Regions from separate parts of the Homo sapiens genome. Here region 1 is linked to region 2. Evidence: promoter capture Hi-C in human tissues and cell types (Jung and others, 2019). All regions are on one chromosome and are shown on one strand. Each heading gives the region's core, a stretch centred on a gene start or on the middle of the fragment in contact. The rest is flanking DNA. Distances are from core to core; before and after follow the strand shown.

Region 1 (2,715 bases), core at 190-2,689, 260 kb after region 2:
GTTACATATGTATACATGTGCCATGTTGGTGTGCTGCACCCATTAACTCCTCATTTAACACTAGGTATATCTCCTAATGCTATCCCTCCCCCCTCCCCCCACCCCACAACAGTCCCTGGAGTGTGATGTTCCCCTTCCTGTGTCCATGTGTTCTCATTGTTCAGTTCCCACCTATGAGTGAGAACATGCGGTGTTTGGTTTTTTGTCCTTGCGATAGTTTGCTGAGAATGATGGTTTCCAGTTTCATCCATGTCCCTACAAAGGACATGAACTCATCATTTTTTATGGCTGGATAGTATTCCATGGTGTATATGTGCCATGTTTTCTTAATCCAGTCTATCGTTGTTGGACATTTGGGTTGGTTCCAAGTCTTTGCTATTGTGAATAGTGCCGCAATAAACATACGTGTGCATGTGTCTTTATAGCAGCATGATTTATAATCCTTTGGGTATATACCCAGTAATGGGATGGCTGGGTCAAATGGTATTTCTAGTTCTAGATCCCTGAGGAATCGCCACACTGACTTCCACAATGTTGAACTAGTTTACAGTCCCACCAAAAGTGTAAAAGTGTTCCTATTTCTCCACATCCTCTCCAGCACCTCGTTTCCTGACTTTTTAATGATTGCCATTCTAACTGGTGTGAGATGGTAACTCATTGTGGTTTTGATTTGCATTTCTCTGATGGCCAGTGATGGTGAGCATTTTTTCATGTGTTTTTTGGCTGCATAAATGTCTTCTTTTGAGAAGTGTCTGTTCATATCCTTTGCCCACTTTTTGATGGGGTTGTTTGTTTTTTTCTTGTAAATTTGTTTGAGTTCATTGTAGATTCTGGATATTAGCCCTTTGTCAGATGAGTAGGTTGTGAAAATTTTCTCCCATTTTGTAGGTTGCGTGTTCACTCTGATGGTAGTTTCTTTTGCTGTGGAGAAGCTCTTTAGTTTAATTAGATCCCATTTGTCAATTTTGGCTTTTGTTGCCATTGCTTTTGGTGTTTTAGACATGAAGTCTTTGCCCATGCCTATGTCCAGAATGGTATTGCCTAGGTTTTCTTCTAGGGTTTTTATGGTTTTAGGTCTAACATGTAAGTCTTTAATCCATCTTGAATTAATTTTTGTATAAGGTGTAAGGAAGGGATCCAGTTTCAGCTTTCTACATATGGCTAGCCAGTTTTCCCAGTACCATTTATTAAATAGGGAATCCTTTCCCCATTGCTTGTTTTTGTCAGGTTTGTCAAAGATCAGATGGTTGTACATATGTGGCATTATTTCTGAGGGCTCTGTTCTGTTCCATTGATCTATATCTCTGTTTTGGTACCAGTACCATGCTGCTTTGGTTACTGTAGCCTTGTAGTATAGTTTGAAGTCAGGTAGCATGATGCCTCTGGCGTTGTTCTTTTGGCTTAGGATTGACTTGGCAATGCGGGCTCTTTTTTGGTTCCATATGAACTTTAAAGTAGTTTTTTCCAATTCTGTGAAGAAAGTCATTGGTAGCTTGATGGGGATGGCATTGAATCTGTAAATTACCTTGGGCAGTATGGCCATTTTCATGATATTGATTCTTCCTACCCATGAGCATGGAATGTTCTTCCATTTGTTTGTATCCTCTTTTATTTCCTTGAGCAGTGGTTTGTAGTTCTCCTTGAAGAGGTCCTTCACATCCCTTGTAAGTTGGATTCCTAGGTATTTTATTCTCTTTGAAGCAATTGTGAATGGGAGTTCACTCATGATTTGGCTCTCTGTTTGTCTGTTATTGGTGTATAAGAATGCTTGTGATTTTTGTACATTGATGTTGTATCCTGAGACTTTGCTGAAGTTGCTTATCAGCTTAAGGAGATTTTGGGCTGAGACAATGGGGTTTTCTAGATATACAATCATGTCATCTGCAAACAGGGACAATTTGACTTCCTCTTTTCCTAATTGAATACCCTTCATTTCCTTCTCCTGCCTAATTGCCCTGGCCAGAACTTCCAACACTATGTTGAATAGGAGCGGTGAGAGAGGGCATCCCTGTCTTGTGCCAGTTTTCAAAGGGAATGCTTCCAGTTTTTGCCCATTCAGTATGATATTGGCTGTGGGTTTGTCATAGATAGCTCTTATTATTTTGAGATACGTCCCATGAATACCTAATTTATTGAGAGTTTTTAGCATGAAGTGTTGTTGAATTTTGTTAGAGGCTGTTTCTGCATCTATTGAGATAATCATTTGGTTTTTGTCTTTGGTTCTGTTTATATGCTGGGTTACATTTATTGATTTGCGAATGTTGAACCAACCTTGCATCCCAGGGATGAAGCCCACTTGATCATGGTGGATAAGCTTTTTGATGTGCTGCTGGATTCTGTTTGCCAGTATTTTATTGAGGATTTTTGCATCAATGTTCATCAAGGATATTGGTCTAAAATTCTCTTTTTTGGTTGTGTCTCTGCCCGGCTTTGGTATCAGGATGATGCTGGCCTCATAAAATGAGTTAGGGAGGATTCCCTCTTTTTCTATTGATTGGAATAGTTTCAGAAGGAATGGTGCCAGCTCCTCCTTGTACCTCTGGTAGAATTCGGCTGTGAATGCATCTGGTCCTGGACTTTTTTTGACTGGTAAGCTATTGATCGTTGCCACAATTTCAGAGCCTGTCATTGGTCTATTCAGAGATTCAACTTCTTCCTGGTTTAGTCTTGGGAGGGTGTATGTGTCGAGGAATTTATCCATTTCTTCTAGATTTT
Region 2 (3,065 bases), core at 263-2,762:
GGAGCAAACTCAAAAGGTGAGAGATAGTGGCTTCCACAAAGCTGTTTCCATTTGTTCTCCTACCATCTGTGACCCAAACAGGCTTCCTGTCAGGAGTTGAGGGCCATATGCTTCACTTTCTTAACTATCAGCTTCTTGTTGAACAAACTTGCACCTCTATCCCTCTTCAGAGAGTCACACACTACATTTACATCCCCTAGAAAAATACCTTGGGTACAATTGAACATTTAATTTTTACCTGATTCCTGGATGCCCTAGGGATCATCTGTGGGTCTCAGGTTGAGATTCCCTGCCCTCAGAGATTATTCTTGAAGTACTTACACCTTCCCTGGATGAAAAGGAGAAGAAAATCTGAGGTCTTGCTCCCCAACTTGTTTTCCCCTTAGCTAAAGGGTCAAGCGTCGGGGGTGAGGTGTGAGAGGTTGAGGAGGAAAAAGGATTAGTATTACTTTTTTAATGCGATGGCGGCGGGGGGGGGGCGGGAAATGGAGTAGGCAGACTTTTGTCTGATTGTGTGAGGGTGGGAAGAAATGTTATCAGCTGAGAAGATGAAAGAAATGGATGATTAAGGTACTTTCCAGACCTTAGCAAGGAAGATGACAGCTCTGATGAGAAATCTCCCTATGCCGAGGCTTCAGAAGCAGCCCTTCCAGCAGAGAAAGTATTCATTAGAAAAAGAAGGCAAAGTGATGGATGGAGTCAGGGTCCAGCCAGGGTTTGGGAAGAGGCTGTACAGGGTATCGATCGCAGTTCTCAAGAGAAGAGAGACAGATCAGCAGAGATGCTGCAAACACCAGCTGCCTCGGGGCCACCCCAGTTCTGGGGCTGGCTCTGGCTCGGAGACAGCCTTCTGTCATCCTGTCATCATGACAGGTGATCTTGGTCAGCTTGGCCAGGTCCTCTCAAATCCAGACAACGCCACGCCAACCCTCTGCTCTGCATCAGGGCAGCGTGGGTTTCCCACAGAGGAGGCACGACACGGGAGCCGAGGCCCTCCCCCACACCACCCCTGTGTCCTTCAGCACCTCCTACAGACTCCCTCCCCTTGCCCTTCTGATTCACAGCGCCCACCTCCCTGCACCTACCCTATTCGATCTACAGGGGAGCGGAGTCGCTTCGTGGCCGCCAGCCCGGGAAGGGGCGCCAGCCAGCTGGCGGACGCACGGCTTAGAGGGGCGTCTGGGCAGAGAGGTTTGGGGCTGGGGAGAGATGCAGTGAGCTTGGGAGAGTGGACTGGTAGCACAAATAATGTGTGCATAAGGGTTAGAAGAGGAGGTCCTGGAGCTTTGGTCTTCTCTTTTCCCCCTGCAATTGTGCATTTCGGAGGGACTCTTGCTGCAAGCTCGGTAGGCAATAGCATCCGCTCCAAGACTACACTTCCCAGAAGGCTGTGAGTGGGTGGGGGGGGGGGGGGCGCGGGGAACAGGCAACCTGTGTTGCGCTTGCGCAAAGACTGCGCTGGAAAGGCAGGTGGGGAGGAGGGGAGGCGTGCCCGCGACGGGGCGAGGGGGAGGGGGCCGCGCGGCGGCGGCGCCAGGGCGGGCGCGCGTCCGCGGCGGTGATGGCGGTGCGTGAACGCGCGGCGGCAGCAATGGCCGCTCTGGAGCGGCGGGTGCCGAGTCTCGATGACTTCGCGGGACAGAGCTGGAGCTCGTGGGTGGAGCGGGCCGACCTGCCCGCGGCTGACGGTGAGTAAAGCCACCCTAAAGTCCGGGGACCCCATCACTATCTCCCCTCCCCCCTTCCGGGCCCCCGCCAGCTGAGGGGAGCCGCCGACTGGAGCCGCCGTCCGGCTCCCCGGCCCCCCAAACAAAGGACCCGCCGGGTCCTAGTGCCCGCCCGCTCCGTCACCTTCGCGCCTCCGGGTCCTAGCGCCTGCTCACCGCTCGCAGCCCACCCTGCCAACCTCTGCCTCTGCCAGTCGCTAATACCTGCCCCCATATAGGCTTGCCTTTATCTTTCTCCTTGCCTGCTGCCCCTCAGCTCGCGACCCTCCTGCACCTGCCTCCAGCTTTCCCTGTCCGCAACAGTCCTCCACGTGTTTCCCACGCACCCCACTTCTGTGCCCCCTTCCTCACCCCCCTTGTTCCTTCGCCTTTTGCCCCACACCTCCTGCTCCTTTTCGGCATTTGCCTGCAGCTGCAGTGCTTTTAGACCCCCGCCCTCTCCGCGTTAGTTCGTCCGTCCATCCATCTATCCTCCCTCCCTCCATCCTTCGGTCCATCCATCCATGCCTCCAACCCACTGTCCTTTCCCAGGCCTCTTGCCCTGCCTCTTGGCTCTCTGCTCTTACTCTCACCTTCTCTAGGCCCCTGAGTGCCTTAGTGAGCGGGCCTACAGCCCCTTCTTCTGATCTTTGTCTTCTGGGCCCCAGGGAGCACCTGGCCTCGTGGCCTTTCGGGGTGACAGCAGGCATCACGCCCCTGAAGAAGTTTGCAAGTGAGAAGAGGTGGAGGAGGAGACTGCACGGAGGGGTCTCTAATGACACTTGTTCTCCTCTGAGACATCCGACTCCCAGTTTCGTTCTATCCATCATTCCCCGCACTTGCATTTAACGGACTTAGAGTGGGAGCTGCCCCTTGTCTCTTGCGTGCCTAACCCACGACCCCTCATAATCTGGATATTATATAAGATTGTCAACAATCTTCTCATCCTAGAAAGGAGCATATCTGTTAATGGGCATCAGAGAGCAGACCTAAGTGGGAGCCCAGGCCACCCTGGGGCTGCCCCATGCTGGGTGGGCAAAGATGGGGCCATTGTCAGGGTCTGGGTGCATTGAGAACCGGAAATGGAGTCAGACGGGTTTGGTGACTCAGAATTGATTTTTTTTTTCCCAAGGGACAGGGAGGGGGCGTAGAGGAGGGAGGGGGGAGGAGAGAGGTAGGGGGATGGGGAAAAAGCTGCTTTGCACAGCTAAGATGTTTTTGTCATTAACCCAGAAACTGAGGTACAAGGGCAACCCCTGCCCAAAGGCCCTCTAAGAAGGGGAGGGACTTGCATAGCTGACCAAGGAGACTTTGAAGATGCTCAAGGACCAAAGACAGCAGTTTCTCTGCTCTGTGACC

Evidence for each region. Contacts are between HindIII fragments. The study calls those that stand out against the background at their distance.
Region 1: a contact is called between a fragment that was not itself captured here and the fragment with the promoter of ATXN7L2 in region 2, in 1 of the 25 tissues and cell types used here (adrenal gland).

The regions. Positions count from the first base shown.
Region 1 is chr1:109,742,836-109,745,550 of GRCh38, forward strand. No RefSeq gene overlaps it. Among named protein-coding and RNA genes, the nearest start is that of GSTM3, 3.2 kb to the left of the region's middle. The HindIII fragment of the contact is 3,640 bases long and covers 1-2,715 here.
Region 2 is chr1:109,482,393-109,485,457 of GRCh38, forward strand. It overlaps ATXN7L2 (ataxin 7 like 2), which reads left to right and starts at 1,513. Exons shown (of 11, transcript NM_001350175.2): 1 at 1,513-1,688. The coding sequence starts at 1,562. RefSeq lists enhancers at 985-1,602, 1,603-2,222 and a silencer at 1,416-1,585. The HindIII fragment of the contact is 8,644 bases long and covers 1-3,065 here.